Regions from separate parts of the Homo sapiens genome. Here all the other regions are linked to region 3. The links are contacts of gene promoters, found by promoter capture Hi-C in blood cells and fetal thymus (Javierre and others, 2016). All regions are on one chromosome and are shown on one strand. Each heading gives the region's core, a stretch centred on a gene start or on the middle of the fragment in contact. The rest is flanking DNA. Distances are from core to core; before and after follow the strand shown. Region 1 overlaps RIPOR2 (RHO family interacting cell polarization regulator 2). Region 2 holds the start of MRS2 (magnesium transporter MRS2). Region 3 holds the start of KIAA0319. Region 4 has its middle 1.9 kb from the start of GPLD1. Region 5 overlaps RIPOR2 (RHO family interacting cell polarization regulator 2). Region 6 overlaps GPLD1 (glycosylphosphatidylinositol specific phospholipase D1). Region 7 overlaps RIPOR2 (RHO family interacting cell polarization regulator 2).

Evidence for each region. Contacts are between HindIII fragments. The CHiCAGO score rates a contact against its expected background, and 5 or more counts as called.
Region 1: a contact is called between a fragment that was not itself captured here and the fragment with the promoter of KIAA0319 in region 3, in 1 of 17 cell types (neutrophils). The highest score is 11.1, in neutrophils.
Region 2: the fragment with the promoter of MRS2 here is called in contact with the fragment with the promoter of KIAA0319 in region 3 in 7 of 17 cell types (M2 macrophages, M1 macrophages, M0 macrophages and 4 more); the score reaches 9.2 in M2 macrophages.
Region 4: a contact is called between a fragment that was not itself captured here and the fragment with the promoter of KIAA0319 in region 3, in 3 of 17 cell types (total B cells, fetal thymus and naive B cells). The highest score is 7.1, in total B cells.
Region 5: a contact is called between a fragment that was not itself captured here and the fragment with the promoter of KIAA0319 in region 3, in 1 of 17 cell types (neutrophils). The highest score is 5.7, in neutrophils.
Region 6: a contact is called between a fragment that was not itself captured here and the fragment with the promoter of KIAA0319 in region 3, in 7 of 17 cell types (total B cells, M1 macrophages, M2 macrophages and 4 more). The highest score is 7.4, in total B cells.
Region 7: a contact is called between a fragment that was not itself captured here and the fragment with the promoter of KIAA0319 in region 3, in 1 of 17 cell types (neutrophils). The highest score is 9.9, in neutrophils.

Annotation. Positions count from the first base shown.
Region 1 is chr6:24,858,432-24,861,131 of GRCh38, forward strand. It overlaps RIPOR2 (RHO family interacting cell polarization regulator 2), which reads right to left. Exons shown (of 22, transcript NM_001286445.3): 8 at 2,542-2,605. Among named protein-coding and RNA genes, the nearest start is that of ARMH2, 61 kb to the left of the region's middle. The HindIII fragment of the contact is 4,946 bases long and covers 1-2,700 here.
Region 2 is chr6:24,401,597-24,404,296 of GRCh38, forward strand. MRS2 (magnesium transporter MRS2) reads left to right here and starts at 1,340. Exons shown (of 11, transcript NM_020662.4): 1 at 1,340-1,640. The coding sequence starts at 1,451. RefSeq lists a silencer at 1-219 and an enhancer at 1,977-2,700. The HindIII fragment of the contact is 7,340 bases long and covers 1-2,700 here.
Region 3 is chr6:24,644,908-24,647,607 of GRCh38, forward strand. KIAA0319 reads right to left here and starts at 1,284. Exons shown (of 21, transcript NM_014809.4): 1 at 829-1,284. RefSeq lists a silencer at 1,129-1,338. The HindIII fragment of the contact is 1,579 bases long and covers 481-2,059 here.
Region 4 is chr6:24,490,116-24,492,815 of GRCh38, forward strand. It overlaps a transcript of GPLD1 not described here. Among named protein-coding and RNA genes, the nearest start is that of GPLD1, 1.9 kb to the left of the region's middle. The HindIII fragment of the contact is 1,357 bases long and covers 713-2,069 here.
Region 5 is chr6:24,809,761-24,812,460 of GRCh38, forward strand. It overlaps RIPOR2 (RHO family interacting cell polarization regulator 2), which reads right to left. Exons shown (of 22, transcript NM_001286445.3): 21 at 1-47. Among named protein-coding and RNA genes, the nearest start is that of ARMH2, 12 kb to the left of the region's middle. The HindIII fragment of the contact is 5,753 bases long and covers 1-2,700 here.
Region 6 is chr6:24,427,370-24,430,069 of GRCh38, forward strand. GPLD1 (glycosylphosphatidylinositol specific phospholipase D1) reads right to left here. Exons shown (of 25, transcript NM_001503.4): 25 at 1-1,749. The coding sequence ends at 1,663. Among named protein-coding and RNA genes, the nearest start is that of MRS2, 26 kb to the left of the region's middle. The HindIII fragment of the contact is 4,577 bases long and covers 1-2,700 here.
Region 7 is chr6:24,838,727-24,841,426 of GRCh38, forward strand. It overlaps RIPOR2 (RHO family interacting cell polarization regulator 2), which reads right to left. Exons shown (of 22, transcript NM_001286445.3): 14 at 365-546. Among named protein-coding and RNA genes, the nearest start is that of ARMH2, 41 kb to the left of the region's middle. The HindIII fragment of the contact is 1,603 bases long and covers 477-2,079 here.

The DNA.
Region 1 (2,700 bases), core at 121-2,620, 210 kb after region 3:
ATATGTATGTTGGAAGTAGTTTTTACCAGAATGAGTAACAGATGAGAAAGCAGCTAATTGCAAAGACAATAGGATTTCTTGGCAGCATGAGGTTTCCCTTTCTCTTTATGGAGGAAGAGAAAGATTTCCATGGGGGTGTTTACCATTGAAAGCCTTCACAGATGTAGTTTCTGAGTTTGCCTGTTAGATGAGGAAAGTGGAGGAGACAGGAGTCTATCAATGAGGAAGGAGATTTAGTCTCAGGCCTGAGAAACCCCATGGAAGAAACCAAGCGTTCAGGTGGACTCTCAGGAACATCAGGCAGGAGAGCAAGAACAACAGAGAGAGGAGGAGATGGAGGAGCAGGAGCAACAGCAAGTTCATCAGTCCATCAGGGCTGCGATGTAGCGGGGTGGCCAGGTCCCCCAGTAGGTGGCAGGGACTCCAGCATCATCTCCTCCCTGAACACCAAGCCTGAAGCTCCAGATCTGGTCCGAGGGTGGTCCCTTTCCTCCCCATCCCACTCCTAGGGTGTCTCTGTGCTAGGTTGGAGAGGATCTGCCCGTGAGGGAGACCATTCTTTGAGCAATGGTTTATATTGTCTGCTCAGCTCTGAACTTCCCTCATAACATGGAGTTAGAGGTGGGAATGCATTAGGAACAAAGAACCCTGGAATTCAGTTTCTTGTCTGACTCCAATTTAAGTGTGACTCCTGGGACAAGTCATTTAGCCTCTCTAGGCCCCTATTTCCCATCTGTAAAATCAGGAAATTACCATCCCACCAAAAATAGATGCACTTGATAATACTGAGCATCAGAAATAGGAGAAATATAGTACTTTTTTATATTAGCAGTGATAGGTGATGTGCATGATTTGAATTACTGTTAGGCTGCGAGACTCTGCGACTGTGCTAGTCTGTGTGGGTGGCGTCTGAGAGTTGGGGGAAGTAGAGGGAAGGTTTTCTGCTAAACACTGATTCAGGGCAGTTATTTTCCAGAATTGATCAGGCTGCTGATAGAATCATCCTCAAAGTTAAAATAAAAATTCCAGGGCCCACGTGGGACTATGGACCTGCGTGATTTTGGAACCACTGACTCAAGTGAGGACCCAAAAATGTAGAGAATGGACCTAAAAAATGGAAAAAAGCACAGATGCCAGACTCAGTAGCAAAGCAAGTGTTGAAACTTAACACTGAATACTAAACTGATTCCCTACCGGATCTGCCGGAAGAGAAGCATGCAGCCATTTGGGAAGCTGAGGGTCAAGGTCATTTATATTCCAGGTATTCTCAGACAGGCTCTTACATGTCAGTGCCTAGTGCTTGACAGAATAATTTCCCTCCTGAGTTAGATGATTCATTGGAAAATGAAGCCCTCCTGTCGAGCCCTTTCAAAAAAAAGTCTCCTTTCTTTACTCCCTTAATTGCAGAAAGTAGAAAGAAGGTGATTAAATCCCCATTAGCAACCCAGGGATCAAGCTGCTAAGAAACCTCAGAATTGCATAAGCACCAGCCCTCTTCACTGCAGTCAGATGGGCCAAAACTTGGAAGAGAAATTGACTTGCTGTGATGGCCGCTCATTTGACAGCCATGCCTGGCCACTGAGCCGTAAATCTGACAACACCTGAGCAATGCTCTATTTTCTAAAACCAGACTTCGTTTTTGTTCTGAAGATGCTGTGGTTTAACTCAATAATGTGTCTAGTTTGGAACTTTCTGGAATAAATACCAGAAAGGCACTGGGAGGGGAAAAATTCTCTGTGGGTTTAACACCAAGATTTACAAAATTTCATAGTTAGTTTGCTAGAAACATGAGGAGCTAAAGGAAGAATTTAAAGATCACCCCAAAGAAGCCAACAGACAAGCTAGAATGTGGGACATTCTGTACAATGGTTTCTACAGCAAGTCAAGGGTAGAAAAAAAGGTAGGGAGAGGTTTGTTTTAGATTAAAGGAAATCTAAAAGATATACCTAACAACCAATTGTAATGCATGGACCTTGTTGGGATCCTAATTTGAACTAATCAAATGTACAAGGCATTTTTGAGACAACGGGGGAAATCTGATAATGGAATGGGTTAATAACCAGGGTTTATTATTTTTGTTAGCTGTGAAAACGTGACAGTACTTGGCATCGTGGTTATGTAAGATGACAGCCCCATGCTTTAAGAGATGCATACTGAAGTGTATAGCAGCAGACTGACATATCTGGGTTTTATTTCATCAAAGGACTTCTCTTTTATCAAAGGAAAAACAAAAGCAAAGAGATGGAGCAAATGTGGCAAAATCTTGCTAATTATTACATCTAGGTGATGGGTTTATGGGGGCTCATTATAATGTTCTCTCCACTTCTGTGTATGTTTGAGATTCTGTCATAATATTTTTGTGTGTGTAGGTAAGCCTCAGGATGAGAAGCATCAGTAAACTATCAAAAGTGGGGTGGGTTGAGAGTGGGTGGCGCTGCGTCTTTGCAAGGAAAATAAAAATAGCATGGGCTCTCAAACTTCAAGGAGCTCTGCACTCTGCAGAGATGGCTCCTTATTCTCTCTAAACAAGGAAAATAATACCTTTCATCTTGATGGAGAATTCTCCCAGCAGATTCTCTAGCTCCACTTCAATGGTGCACATATTCTGCAAAGAGGACAGGAGACGATCATGAGAGCTAGCCTTTCACCCAACAGCTCAAAGCACACGACGTTCGAACAGCAGCACAACCACTGCGTGAA
Region 2 (2,700 bases), core at 90-2,589, 240 kb before region 3:
GTCTCACTCTGTCGTACAGGCTGGAATGCAGTACAGGCTGGAATGCAATGGCATGATCTGGGCTCGCTGCAACCTCCACCTCCTGGATTCCAGCAATTCTTATGCCTCAGCCTTACAAGTAGCTGGGATTACAGGCACCTGCAACCACACCCGGCTAATTTTTGTATTTTTAGTAGAGACGGGTTTTGCCATGTTGGCCAGGCTGGTCCTGAACTCCTAACCTCAAGTGGTCCACAACATTGGCCTCCCAAAGTGCTTGGCTCCCAAAGTGCTGGATTACAGGCATGAGGCACCACGCCCGGTGGCATGTTGAGTCTTTGAATTAAAGGAAATTAAAAGGGTCTCAGAAAGAAGCCTAAAAATCAAGGCCTCTCTCTCTCACCTTCCCCCTTCCTTTTGTCTCTCTGATACTCTTACTTTTTCCAAGCACCTGAAGGGGCTCTCTTTTCCTGCACAGCCAGATAAGGAATTTCCTTATCTGACAGAGAAAACTCTTTTCCAAAGAAATGCAATTGTCTTAAAACCCGTTCCTTAGGAATCGCATTAAATAATCAGAAGAGATTAATCACCCAGAGAAGAGACAAAAACTGAAAGTCATAGCCACACTGAGACTTTTCATAGATACTTCTGAGGGTAGCTCCAAGAGATTACCTGGGAAACTTTACCTGTATAATAGGACAATTTTTGTTCAGAGTGAAGTTTCACAGCTTGTCCACAAGCGATTGTTTGTACTTCTGTCCCACTGAATGTCCAAGGAGAATCATTTGCAAACCACTGTCTGGCTTTCGGGCCCATTCATACCTATCTCCCTCTACTCAACAAAGAAGGGTATACAAGCATCTGGACCTTAATTGAGTTATTGAGTAATCACTCTTCTGTGATTTTTCCCTATGCACGTTAAGCAAATTTTGTATGCCTTTTTCTCCTGCTAATCTGTCTACTTAGTTCATTCCAGCAACTTTCAGAGGGCAAAAGTAGGAGCTTTCCCTCTTGCTCCCTACACCACGTTAAATTTAAATATAAATTAAATGATGTGGGAATGGGTAACCTGCTCATTTCCAAACTGCAATTTTCATAGGTATGAAAATTCTCCACAAACTACAAAACCATGACACTCCAAGCGCCCAAGAACCTAGGTTGGACAGCTCACTTAGTGCAGGTAAACGTGCTCCACCCATCTCCCAGCCCGCCTGCCCCCTCACTTAGGTACAGGTGCAGGTACAGGTAGGCAAGCAAACGTCTATTGGCTGTGGACTTAACAGGCTCGCCCACAGGTACCTTCCGAGCATGCGTGGGGAAGTAGCACGCAGGCGCGGCACGCCCCGCGCATGCCTGGTGCACAGAGTCTGCAGGTCGGGCGGTAGCGACAGGTCAGAGCTGCGGCCTGAGCAGCCAGCGTCCGGCATGAAGGTCTGGGGTCTGGCTGCTGCCTGCTTCTTGCTCCAGCACCATGGAATGCCTGCGCAGTTTACCCTGCCTCCTGCCCCGCGCGATGAGACTTCCCCGGCGGACGCTGTGTGCCCTGGCCTTGGACGTGACCTCTGTGGGTCCTCCCGTTGCTGCCTGCGGCCGCCGAGCCAACCTGATTGGAAGGAGCCGAGCGGCGCAGCTTTGCGGGCCCGACCGGCTCCGCGTGGCAGGTACTGCCCTTCCCCGGCAACAGCCTTGGGACGCTGGTCTTGCAGTGACCTTAGACTGCTGCCCCAGCCGTCCGGCGCGGCGCGCCTGTTGCTCCGCGCCCTCCGCAGGCCTCGGCCTCCCGCGTGTCCTGTGAGCTTGCACAGGCCCGCGGGCCGAGCTGCGTCCCACTCGCTCAGAATGCGACCTTGCTATGTGCGCTGTGCCCTGCCGGGGTCCCAGCGGCCAACCCTCTGCCTTCTCCTCCACCGCCCTTGCTGCAGATTATGTAACCATAGGAACAACCTAGGAATCGTTTACAGACCGTGATCACGTTAGTTAACACCCGCTTAAGTGCTCTTGTAAGAGGTTTTTTCTGTGTTGTTTTTGAGACAGGGTCTTACTATGTTGCCCAGGCTGGACTCAAACTCCTTGCCTCGAGCCATCCTAACGCATTAGCCTCGCAAAGCGCTGGGATTACAGGCGTGAGCCACCACACCTGGCCGAGAGGTGTTTTTAAACAAGGATTTCATCTGTTCGGAAGTCATAAGTATAAATTAATACTTCCCTGTTTTCTGTTTCTTCGTTATGGACACATTTATACAGTTGTCCAGTTGCACGGAGATTGGGGACGCACCTAGAAGTGAGGCTAAAGACTGAGTTGTTTCTGAGAACGACTTACTTTCAACTACAGTACTCTATAAGTAAACAGCCAGGGAGATCGGATTGAGAAAAAAAAATCTTATTTGCTGTTTATTTTTTCACCAAATGTTGAAGCATGGTGAAAAGTTAAGATTTTCACAAATGTGAGTGCAAATATTTGAGGAATAAAAGGTATTGAAATGAATGACTTTATTAAGAACATAGCAGTGTCCTCAAATATGTTTTCTCAATTGTGCTCTCAAAAGCCTCCCAAAGTAACTCCTCGTCAGCACCTCATTCTCCACTTATTGGAGAGGCTAAGTTGGGTTACATGCTCTGCACCCTCAATTGATAATGCTTGGGAATCCAGTTTCAGCAAGTTGGAGGAAACTTTTAGGACAAGCATTGACGTTCACAATCTCAATCCCGGTTACACTCTAA
Region 3 (2,700 bases), core at 34-2,533:
TCCAGTTTTCCTCATCTGAATTAAAAATAATACTAAAAAAAGCACAAAATAAAAGTTTAGATTTGGCATAACTTTAGTAGTCTCTACAATTGTGGTCTTCTTATAATAAATTGAAGCATTTGGAAAGTGAGCATGTATTTCAGGAATAAAGAAATAAATACCAACATTTACTTCCAAAATTCTTGTGTGTGGGGGGGAACATTGTCTACAATTTATTTTTTCTGTTACTATCAAAAACATCATTCAACTTTTCAATTCAAGCAGTGGAAAAAATACTAACATTTCACCGACAAACAAAAATGTTTTGATGAACAAACCAGCAATAAAAGTGCACATGAGTATGTATATCATATTTTTCCTCCTTGTATTTAATTAACAAATGACCTTAAGATGATAACTCTCAAAATTTCAGGTTTATCCTCCCGATTAATTTGTGACATTCCTTGGAGGGAATTCAAAGGGAAGAAGAGAAAGATTTTAAGCTTCAGGTTATGGTAAGGAACAGAGACAAAATGCATTTAGCAAATAATAGGAAAGATCACATAAATAGTTCTGAATGAAGTTTAAAGAAAACGATTCCTTACTTCTAAAAAAATGCAATTCGTGAGGTTGGGAAAAGACACTCAAATTTCCCCGACTCCACCCTACTAGTCAACAATCAGTGCAGCAATCAAAAAATGCCCTTTCCTGAATGCCCAGAAGAATCTTAAGAAACTCACCTTCTGAACTCAGGGCGTCTCGATTCTACTTTTGTTGGGTATTGGCCTGCCTACTGGCTGCCCTCTTTCCTATTTCTCGGCCAGGCGCTCTGGGAAGTAGATACCGTACCTGTGGTCACTGCTGGCGACACTGAAGCTCGCCCCATGCGTTGCTGCTGGCCCTGAGCATCACTCGCCGTCCCACTTGTTCCTCCTCGTCGTCATCGCAGGTCTTACACACACACACACACACACACACACACACACACACACACACACACACGTTCACACCCTCGCGCGCGCACCTGCTGTTAAGAGGTACAGCCCCACCCCAGCAAAATCCTCGCTTCCTCTTCCCCGGGACGTAGCCCCAGAGGAGCGAATCTGGACCAAGCCCAAGACAGGCTGAAGCTACTGCTGCGCTCTCACCTCCGGCAGTGACAGCGAGCGCCGCCGCCGCTCTGCGCGGGGCCAGCCAGGCCCGCCGAGGGCAGCACAGGTGGAGCAAGGTTGCACCCCCGGGGGATCCCCGCCCACCGCCCGCGGCAGCTTCTGCAGGCTCGGGGAAAGCGCGCGCCAGTGATTCAGCGCCTTTCCGCCGCCGCGGTTACCACGGCGACGCGCGCGCACGCGCACACACGCCCTCAGGGATGTGGGGCGCGGCAGCCGCCCCTGCCCAGCTCCCCTGCTCAGCTCCCCTGCTCAGCTCCCCGGTTGCGCTCTAAGTACCCGCACCGGGGCGACACACTCCCACCCCGCAGGGGACCAAGCAAAAGTCTTTCGTGAACCTGAGCGGCCTTCATACCCTACCTGCTTTCCTTCACCAAGCCCTTCCCTGTCACCGTGGCCCTAAACAGTCTGGGGGATGAACACTCCTTCCAAATAAACACCCGGGCCAGGGTGGCTCAAGGGAGCCGTGGGTGCACTGCCTGGGTCAAACACCCTTCGCGAATGTGTCCCCCAGCTTGTCCCCAGCTTGTGTCACCCCAGCTACACAAGTTCCATTCTTCCAGTGGGAGTCTCTTTGGCCCCTACTCTGTAATTATCTTTCTATTTTGAGCAGGTGCTTTCTGACTGAGACTGGGAACCTGTGCTAGGAGGGGCTCCCATCACCTCCAGGCCTTGCAGGTTAACTGGATGCCCAGTATAGTTTGACATTTGCATCTTGAGGAACGTGATAATCTAAACCACAGAAAACTTGGGTGGAAGACTCTTGCATTTTTACTGTTTTAATAAAGATGCGAAAGCATCTAGGGATAATATCATGAGCAGAAAAGGTAGCCAGGGCATTCCTCGCACATCTCATTACTAGGAGGTATAAGTGCAGTGCTTAGGGCTGAGTCACACACTGTTGATGAATAAGCTTCTTGGCTACTCGTATTTACCGAAGAGCCTCAGACAAGTTACCTAATCTAGATAAACCTGTTTCCTCAATTATAAAATGAAGATAATAGCATTCATATAGGATGATTCTGGGAATCAAATAAGATAATGCACATTTAAAGAGTAAAAACCAGCTGGGTGCGGTGGCTCACGCCTGTAATCCTAGCACTTTGGCAGGCCGAGGCGGGCGGATCACGAGGTCAGGAGATCGAGACCATTCTGGCTAACACGGTGAAACCCCCGTCTCTACTAAAAATACAAAAAATTAACCGGGAGTGGTGGCCCGCGCCTGTAGTTCCAGCTACTTGAGAGGCTGAGGCAGGAGAATCGCTTGAATCCAGGAGGCGGAGGTTGCAGTGAGCCGAGATCGTGCCACTGCACTCCAGCCTGGGCGACAGAGCAAGACTCCGTCTCAAAATAAATAAATAAATAAATAAATAAATAAATAAATAAATAAATAAATAAATAAAAACTAAAGAGTAAAAACCTGTCCAGGACTCAAAGAGTGAAAATCAGCTTGGACTTGGAAAAGTTAGTACTGCCAATGATCAATGATCAGGCTGAGAGGACAAAGTCAGAAGCAAAATTAACAGGCAATGTTGTTTCCTCTGAAGTCACG
Region 4 (2,700 bases), core at 141-2,640, 150 kb before region 3:
TCTCTCTACCTCTGGCTGTTCTAATAGGGCTTATCCAGAGCCTGTTGCAAGGTCAGATTCCTGCAGCTGAAGCAAAGATGTCAATTCCACTTGGGAGGTGGAAGGAAGGGGGCAGATTTAGGGCCAAGAAACAGGGTTTGGAAAATGTTAAGCTCACGATATATTATCAGGTACCCACTTACACTTCATCCATGGGAAAAATTAAGCTCTTCATGAAACTGATGGTAATCTTAAAACACAAATTATGCATATTTTACATTAAAAGCAAGAGATGGGCTCCTAAAAGAGTGGGAGGAAATAGTATTCACTTCAGGTTTGCCAAATGAAAGGATGAATAGAAAGTGGGATGATTTGGCTGGGCGTGGCGGCCCACACCTGTAATCCCAGCACTCTGGGAGGCTGAGGCTGGTGGATCACCTGAGGTCAGGAGTTTGAGACCAGCGTGATCAACATAGTGAAGACCCCGTCTCTACTAAAAATACAAAAATTAGCCAGGTGTGGTGGCACGTGACTGTAGTCCCAGCTACTGGGGAGGCTGAGGTGGGAGGATCTCTTGAACCCAGGAGGTGGAGATTGCGGTGAGCCGAGATTGCACCACTGCACTCTAGCCTGGGTGACAGAGCAAGACCCTGTCTCAAAAAAAAAAAAAGAAAAGAAAAAAAGAAAGTGGAATGATTTGACAACAGTTGTCGCCCCAACAGTTTCCCCTGTAAGCTTAACACAGCCATGTGCACAGCCCCAAGGAAAGAAATCCCGCAGCTACCCCCAGACCTGAGGGGCAGTAGGCCCAGCTACTCCTGATTAGTCCAGAGGCCATATGCCTACGTGTTTTGTTTGGCTAACAGGATGTTTTATAAACTTAAATCAAGTTTATGAACTTTTTCTAAATGAGAAAATTCACGTAGAAATCTAGATTTCTGGCTCTCTTAAAAACAAAAGAACTGGCATCATGAACTGACGCTCCCATGTGACACGACAACCAGCTGCAGCCAAAGAGCCAGCTGCCCCCTGATAGAGCATGTCCTGCTCCTCCAGTCCCCACCATCCATGCAATGTGTGCAGGTTTCCACACCCCTTCTGGCCACCAGAGGCCTTTGAGTTTGCCTCCCTGTCACTCTGGGCCTTCTACAGACTGTGCGTGAGGGAGTCACAATTATTAATTGGGACTTTGGATATTGTCTCTCAGAACATCCAAGAGCAGTCAATCAATGGTTACAGGGGAAAAAAATACTGCTAGAAAAGATATCTAACCATATATAATACAACAAACCCATCCAAAAAGCACCAAAGAAATGGGTTCAGAACAGGTGTGGTGGCTCACGCCTATAATCCCAGCACTTTAGGAGGCCAAGGCGGGCAGATGGCTTGAGGCCAGGAGTTCAAAACCAGCCTGTGCAACATGGCAAAATCCCGTCTCTACCAAGAAAAAAACAAAAACAAAAATTAGCCGGGCATGGTGGCATGCACTTATGGTCCAAGCTACTCAGGAGGCTGAGGCGGGAACATCGCCTGTACCTGGGAAGTGAAGGTTGCAGTGAGCTGAGATCACACCACTGCACTCCAGCCTGGGCAAGACCCCACCTCAAAAAAAAAAAAGGAATGGGTTCAGTTACCAAACAATACTAATCCCAAATGTCTCAATTTCTCATTATGCATTTTTTTGTATTTGAGATTCAGAATGACATAAACGTATAAATGTAATAAAATAAGAGGAAATTATTTGCTTAGTGTGATAGTTATGAATATGGTCTTTATATGACAATATTGCTTGCAGTTTTATGAAGTTTGTATTACTTTGGTAACAATAAAAACATCAAAGATATGACTTTAAAGAAAGTTAAAACGTAGCTCACAATATTACTATCTGACAAATAATAAGCATATGGAAATATTTTTCTTTCTGCCCCACACCCCCCTTTCCTAATATAGGTGGCTTTGTTATAAACAAGACAGCATGATTCTACCATTTAGAACTCTTCTGGAAATAGAGACCCAAGGTGAAAAGTAAACATACAGTTACATTAAGGAGTGAGTAGGGAGAATACAGGTTTGAAAGCCAGAGGGTCTCAAGCTTTATGTGGGCCAGTCTAGAAAATGGGGGAGAAGAGGCTGGGCACAGTGTCTCATGCCTGTAATCCCAGCACTTTGGGAGGCCGAGGTGGGCAGATCACCTGAGGTCAGGAGTTCAAGACCAGCCTGGCCAACATGGTGAAACCCCATCTCTACTAAACAATACAAAAATTAGCCAGGCATGGTGGCGCGCACCTGTACTCCCAGCTACTCTGGAGGCTGAGGCAGGAGAATCACTTGAACCCAGGAGGCAGACGTTGCAATGAGCTGAGATCGTGCCATTGCACTCCAGCCTGGGCGACAGAGTAAGACCCTGACTCAAAAAAAAAAAAAAAAAAAAAAGTGAAAGAAAAAAAAGAAAAAGAAAATGGGGGAGAGGATGAATAAGGGTGGGAACTGGGGAGTGGAGGTTCCCAGGACAAGGGCAGCCAAAGGAGAAAGGAGGGAAGAGGTCCCTCTCACCTGATGGTCTTGTCCTTGTAGGCCCTGGTAAGGACAGACACCCAGCCAGGCGCTAGGGGGCATCAGGACAGGCTGGAAGTAAGACAGGAGCCAGGAGGAAATTGTTTACACTCTGAATGGGGGCTTGAAGAGGGGCACAAAACTGAGGGAAAAGGGGAGGGCCACATT
Region 5 (2,700 bases), core at 162-2,661, 160 kb after region 3:
GTATCAGATTGACACAATGTCACCAGCATTTTAATGCTTTCAGTAGCCTATGGGGGAAAAATAGGTTAAATCGTGTTTTGACATTTAGGTCTAGAGTACCACGAGACTTGGCATTTCACAACTGGTGGGAACTTTAGCCTCACTTTGTTGCCCAGGCTGGAGTGCAATGGAGCAATCATAGCTCACTGCAGCCTTGACCTCCTGGGCTCAAGCAATTCTCCTGCCTCAGCCTCCTGAGTAGCCAGGACTGATTTTTAATTTTTAACCTTTGGTACAGATGAGGTCTCACTATGTTGCCCAGGCTAGTCGAATTCTTCTGCCTTGGCCTCCTAATGTGGTGGGATTACAGGTGTAAGCCACTGTGCCCGGCCAGCTGGTAGGAATGCTAAAAACCACTTTACCTATGGGGTCAAACCTAGCTGAGTGTCTGAAACCCAATATTCCTGGGTGCCACTCCGGATGCACTATATCAGAATTTCCTGGGATGGGGCCCAGAGTTCTTACTTTCAGGAATTCTGATGATCAGCTAAATTCCTCATTCCACAGCACACTCCTGGTCTAGAGGAGTGAAGTGACGAGCTTGCTTTTCCAGAGTAGAATCCATTTTCCCTGGTTCTTTCCACTGAATCTCACTGATTCCAAAATGGCTCTAATTAAAAAATTCTTACTATTTAGTTTATATGCTAAAATAGAGGAGGAGGTAAAGGCCATTAATGACAATTCTTCTATTTGTTTGTTCCACAAATATTTATTGAGCACTCCATGAACCAGACTATTCATAAGGCATGAGAGATTCCACAGTAAACCAGACATGGTTCTGGTCCTCAAGAATTTACAGTCTAGTGGATTCAGAGTATGAAAACCCATGCAGATCACTGTATCCTTATGTCTTTATTTACTTTGTCTGTATCACAGACATCTGTCACTGATATATCACTGGATATCAGGAAAGCACCCAAATAGCAATCACTGTGGGCTTTCTATTTGGGCACCTGAAGGTAATTTTTTTTTTAACCAAGTAACAAGGCAAAATTTCCTACAGCTGTTTCTTTTTTTTTCTTTGAGACAGAGTCTCATTCAGTCACCCAGACTGGAGTACAGTGGCGTGATCTTGGCTCACTGCAACTTCTGTCTCCTGGGTTCAAGCGATTCTCCTGCCTCAGCCTCCTGAGTAGCTGGGATTACAGGTGTGCGCCACCACGCCTGGCTAATTTTTGTGTTTTCAGTAAGGATGAGGTTTCACCATGTTGGCCAGGCTGGTCTCAAACTCCTGACCTCAGGTGATCCACCGGCCTCAGCCTCCCAAAGTGCTGGGATTACAGGCATGAGCCACCATGCCTGGCCCTAGAGCTGTTTTTGATCACAGGCCATTAACTTTTTCTTTTGAGGTATTAATTCCTTTCTTTATCAGGCCTGCAGCTCTTTTCCAAGATTTTGGCAAGTTCTAAGGTGTGGCCTTCTCTCATTCTTTTTTTTTTTTTTTTTTTTTTTTTTTGAGATGGAGTCTCTGTCGCCCAGGTTGGAGTGCAGTGGTGCAATCTTGGCTCACTGAAACCTCTGTCTCCTGGATTCAAGCGATTCTCCTGCCTCAGCCTCCCCAGTAGCTGGGATTACAGGTGTGTGCCACCATGCCTGGCTAATTTTTTTTGTATTTTTAGTAGAGACGGGGTTTCATCATGTTGACCAGGCTGGTCTCGATCTCCTGACCTCAAGTGATACGCCTGCCTCAGCCTTCCAAAGTGCTGGGATTACAGGCATGAGCCACTGCACCTGGCCTTCTCTCATTCTTTTCTCAAGACTGATTTGTCTTATTTTTTTGTGATGAAAGTAGGTCAAACATTACATCTTGCCATTGAAAGGGAAACATCCATGTCAGGAGTTCCCATTCGTTTAGTACTTTTTTTTTTTTTTTTTTCTTTTTTTTTTTTTTAATTATACTCTAAGTTTTAGGGTACATGTGCACATTGTGCAGGTTAGTTACATATGTATACATGTGCCATGCTGGTGCGCTGCATCCACTAATGTGTCATCTAGCATTAGGTATATCTCCCAATGCTATCCCTCCCCCCTCCCCCGACCCCACCACAGTCCCCAGAGTGTGATATTCCCCTTCCTGTGTCCATGTGATCTCATTGTTCAATTCCCACCTATGAGTGAGAATATGCGGTGTTTGGTTTTTTGTTCTTGCGATAGTTTACTGAGAATGATGGTTTCCATTTTCATCCATGTCCCTACAAAGGATATGAACTCATCATTTTTTATGGCTGCATAGTATTCCATGGTGTATATGTGCCACATTTTCTTAATCCAGTCTATCATTGTTGGACATTTGGGTTGGTTCCAAGTCTTTGCTATTGTGAATAGTGCCGCAATAAACATACGTGTGCATGTGTCTTTATAGCAGCATGATTTATACTCATTTGGGTATATACCCAGTAATGGGATGGCTGGGTCAAATGGTATTTCTAGTTCTAGATCCCTGAGGAATCGCCACACTGACTTCCACAATGGATGAACTAGTTTACAGTCCCACCAACAGTGTAAAAGTGTTCCTATTTCTCCGCATCCTCTCCAGCACCTGTTTCCTGACTTTTTAATGATTGCCATTCTAACTGGTGTGAGATGATATCTCATAGTGGTTTTGATTTGCATTTCTCTGATGGCCAGTGATGATGAGCATTTCTTCATGTGTTTTTTGGC
Region 6 (2,700 bases), core at 149-2,648, 220 kb before region 3:
TGTAACCTAATGCGACAAAGGTCCCTCATGAGATGGCTTAAAACTAGCAGTGTCGCTAGGCTCTTTAGGTGTTAGAACAGCCAACTCTACAAAAGTATTGGAGGGCACAGAAGGGTGATAGTCTTGGTTTTTATATTTGTCCTTCACTATATAAACATTGAAAAGGTATTAATCCTCATTAAGAAAGGATTATCGGCCAGGTCCTGTGGCTCACACATGTAATCCCAGCACTTTGGGAGGTCAAGGTGGGTGGATCACCTGAGATCAGGAGTTCGAGACCAGCCTGGCCAACATGGTGAAACCCTGTCTCTACTAAAAATACAAAAATTAGCCGGGCGTAGTATTGTGCACCTGTAGTCCCAGCTGCCTGGGAGGCTGAGACAGGAGAATCACTTGAACCTGGGAGGCGGAGGTTGCAGTGAGCTGAGATCACATCACTGCACTCCAGCCTGGGCAACAGAGCAAGACTCCGTCTCAAAAAAAAAAAAAAAAAAAAAGGACTATCATCCTTAGCAAACTAACACACGACCAGGAACAGAAAACCAAATACCAAGTATAGCATGTTCTCACAAGTGGGTGCTAAGTTAAAAGAACTTATGAACACAAAACAACACACACTGGGGTCTACTTGAGTGGGGAAGGTGGGAGGAACAGAAAAGATAAAACCTTCACATGTACCACTGAACCTAAAATAAAAGTTAAAAAGGACTAAGTCACAAGTGATTTGGAATGTGAGGTTATCCCTCACCCCCATGCTTTACTCTGTACTATTTTTCCTCCCTCAGTTTCTTTTTTTTTTTTTTTTCTGTATACTATGCTTTCTATTATACTTTGATTGGCATGGGCCAATCTGTTATTTTTAAGTTCAACTTTTTTTTAACTTTTAAGTTCAGGGGTACATGCGCAGGAAGTGCTGGTTTGTTACATACATAAAGGTGTGTCATGGGGGTTTGTTACACAGATTATTTCATCACCCTAAGTATCCATTAGTTATTTTTCCTGATCTCTCCCTCCTCCCACCTTCCGCCCTCTCATAGGCCCCAGTGTGTGTTGTTTCCCTCTATGTGTCCACGTGTTCTCATTTAGCTCCCACTTACAAGTGAGAATATGGAGTGTTTGGTTTTCTGTTCCTGCAATAGTTTATGAAGGATAATGGCCTCCAGCTCCATCCATGTCCCTGCAAAGGGCATGATCTTGTTCTTTCTTTATGGCTGAACAATTCTTTTTTTAAAAAAGGATGTTTTTAGGAGGAATTGTGTACAGAGACTGTTCTAACAGATAACCACAGAGGGACCTTTCCAGCCATTGGAAAGACATTCAAGAGGAAGAGGAAATAGGTTGTACAGCAGGTCTGACTACAGGCAATAAGTTGGGAAAGAAGAAAGGTTTAGATGCAAAGGGAGCGAGGAAGTAAACTGTGGAAGGAGACATGAGTAAGCAGAATGTCTGCTATTTCACATATTTCTGGTGCAGTCATATATTTACTGTATCAGATTTCCAGAGGGTGTGGCTGTTAGTGTGTCTCTCTACTCCCAGGAGCCCCATGTCTATCAGGATCTACCACCGCTCCACTGGATGTGCCACTTTGTCCATCAAAATGCTCACCATGGATGTGATTCAGCATGAGAGAGGTGGGCAGAGTGGGGAAATGCAGTGAAATCTTCAATCTGAGCCAAGGCTATAGACGTGAAGTGCCCCGGAGAGTCGGGCTCCCAAAGAACTCCTTCCAGCAGCAATGACGACTTGGTTCTGTAAGGGACACAAGACAGAATTCATGGCTCATTCATAACATCTATTGAGTTCCTATGGTAGTCCAGGCATCATGCTATGCTCTAGAAATATAAAGATGAATAAGACACTGGCCAGATCCCCTGGCTTGAACTCAAATGCCACTTTCCCTTTGTTTACAGACCGCTTTCTCACATCTATAAGTTCTGAAAACCGCAGCTAAGGATGCTCACCCCAATCCCTATTCTGGCACATAAATCATAAAGGAGAAGTAGGGCAGTGCATGCTTAGTTCTGGTACAATGTGGAAAACATATCTTGAATAGTAAGGACTTCCCCTAGAAGCTGGCTTTGTCAATGTGTTTAGCGTACCTCCCACCTACCCTGCTGCTTAAAACATTTTAGGACCCATCTTTCAGAATTGCCTTCAAAACCTGCTGCAAGTTTTTAAAACATTTTCTTCTTTTTTGAAACAGAGTCTTGCCCTGTCACCCAGGCTGGAGTGCAGTGATGTGATCTCAGCTCACTGCAACTTCTGCTTCCTAGTTTCAAGTGATTCTCATGTCTCAGCCTCCCGAGTAGCGGAGATTACAGGCATGTGCCACCACATCTGGCTAATTTTTGTATTTTTAGTAGAGACGAGCTCTCACCATGTTGGCCAGGCTGGTCTCGAACTCCCGACCTCAAGTGATCCACCCGCCTCGGCTTCCCAAAGTGCTGAAATTACAGATGTGAGCCACCATGCCTGGTCTTTAAATATTTTCAGTGGTGGCAAATCTTCATACTCCGAGGTCGGATTTGATTTGTGGAAACTGACAAAAGTTATTCTGAACCAAAGCTGGCACATGAGGTACGGGTGATCAAACTGGCTGACAGTATTTTGGTCAGAGCAGGATATGACAGTTTCTTATTTAATTTTGAAAACTACTGATGAAATCTAGAAATAATAATAATAGCTAAAATTTGTGGAGGT
Region 7 (2,700 bases), core at 28-2,527, 190 kb after region 3:
GAGGTTGTGGTGAGCTGAGATCGCACCACTGCACTCCAGCCTGGGTGACAGAGCAAGACTACGTCTTAAAAAAAAATGTGTACACATGTACTTGTATAAAACACTCTCATACAAAATTTTCCTCTCTATTTATAAAGAGGAAATATAAAGATATTTATTTTCCCTTAAGCAACCCAAAAGAGGTGAATAATATTGACCCTTTTATTGCACTTGACAATAAAAAGGAACTGTAAGCCAACTGGTCACTCATGTGGAGAGTTTTATCTTCCTGGAAATGTGTACCAGGTCCCCTCTGACAGTAACAAAGAACTACTGTATCAGCTGTGACAGGAGAAATATAAGGAGACACTAACTTCAGACTTACCTGTGTTTCTCAGTCTCAGTGTCTGAAAATACTGAGTCAGCACCTCCGCCAACATTACAAACCTCATCACCATCCTCCTCCTCGTCAAAATCAGAGGTGTTCAGGAAATCAAAGCTTTCTAAAGCACTTTCAACTGTGAGACTTAAACTGGAAGACCTGCTGCGGCTTACTGCTGGCTTGCACTGTAAAGGCAGAAGGCACCAGGGAGAACATCAACATATCCGGAAAGAGAAACCAGACACACGATGCTCAATTGGAGATGCCACACTTTTTTTTTTGTTTCAAGTTTTTATTTTTTGTTAGCATTTAAAAAATGCATTTAAAAATCTTTATATCCAAAAAAGAAGTACAACCATGGATAAAATGGCACAATATCTGGGACTGGTTGCAGAAGAATCCAGAGGGAAGTCAGCAGGTTGAAGAATAGGAAACAAGATTGGCCATGAGTTGATCACTGAGGAGGTTGAGGGATGGGCACACTGGGATCCATTAGAGGATCTTCTCTACTTCTGTTTGAAATTTTTATAACAAAAAGTTGAAAAAAAACAAAAAAAACAAAAAACAAAACCATGTCAACCACAAAGCCTTGGGAAACAGAACTGCTATATCCCTCTGCCTAGTGCTCACCCCAAAATAAAATACCACAAGCAGACAAATTTTAAGTCAGTGAGTCAATGCTGAATACTGACCAATCTCTAATTCCAAGTGGCAATGTCTTCGGTGTTTTACAAAAGGCGCTAGCTATCTAAGGCATCTGCTCTAAAGGACTAACAAAACAAATCCCAGAAACAGGAAGTGGTTCAAATTCACCTAGCCCATGTTCCCTAGGTAAGAAGCCCTGCATCTTTTTTTTTTTTTTTTTTTTTTTTTTTTTTTTGAGACAAGGTCTTGCTCTGTCACTCAGGCTGGAGTGCAGTGGTGTGATCACAGCTCACTGCAGCCTCAATCTCCCGGGCTTAAGCAATCCTCTCACCTTAGCCTCCCAGGTAGCTGAGACCACAGGCATGTGCCACCACACCAGGCTAATTTTTTTCTTTTATTGCAGAGACAGGGTCTCCCTATGTTGACCATACCGGTCTTGAACTCTTGGGCTCCAGCAATCCTGGGCTTCCCAAAGTGTTGGGATTACAGGCATGAGCCACCGCACCTGCTCACAGCATATAATTTTTCCTCTGAGGACTGAGGAAAGAATGAATGCCTTGGGCATGACAAGAAGCAGCCCTGCTTCCTCTGGAGCTCTGCCTCAAAGGGAACAAGTCCCACCACTTCCCTGACCAGGCCCTGGCATCATGGGAGCAATCCCATTCTCTGGCCTGGAGCATTCTATAATGCTGGCCACATGCAGAAACATTACAAGCAAAACAATGCCAGTTGCTATGGGCACAGAGTTGGAGAGAAGTATTTCCAAATATTCAAGAGGATGCTGGGGTGGGTCGAATGGGACAAATTCTGCAAGTTAGAAGCACTAAATGTCCTCCATCCAGTTAGGTGACACTCCTTGCTGATTTCTTAGCGCAAGGTAGGAAGGGCCTTGCAGGGATCTGTCTCTGACACTCAAGATGGCACAAAAGCACATGGGAAAACGTCTTTCGGTCTTTTAAATCACAGTTGTCTCATTCACCCTCAGTGATCTCCGTCCAAGAGGCAGCACCATTTAGTTTCTGATCGTCAAGGTGTTTAGCATCCTAGGAATGTGAAGGAGGGAGAAAAGAGAAAGCTTTGTCCAGCTGATGCTTTAATTCTGGCTGGATACAAAGCCATTTGCCCCAGACCTAAACACACTCACTAGTGATGTTTTCAGCAGTCTCAGGGGGAGACAGGGAGTCGGTCTTGACTTCACCTACTTCTAGGGTCTTTTTTCCTAAGCAAGGTGTCTGCACAATTTTATCTTGTACAGTACAGATGTGTTTAAATATTGGTCATGACAAAGAAAGGGGCAGTTGAGGATTTTAGTAGCAGGACAATTTTGGAACAACAGCAGACTGAAATAATACTCTGGAAAGAAGTCTCTGATCACCAGTTTTTAATAATGCTTAGTGTTTCCTGTGGATTGAGCTACTTACCATCACCCTAGATGCCTGGAATGGGAGCTGCTATCACTACTGGATTTCTCTAAGGAATTCACTTTAGATGGCATCAATTTGTGTCTTAGCTCTTTGAAATGAATACCTTTTGCCCACAAAGCAAAGCTGGTCAACTTTGCAGAAAAGATAGGTGTTTAGTAGAATACCAGACAAGCAGCCTGCATATACAAGCCCTGAGCTGATGGTTTTGAACTGATATTTTACAGAAAGTAGATTCAGAGTGCCCTTCTGTTTCTCGGAGGCTATGCCATC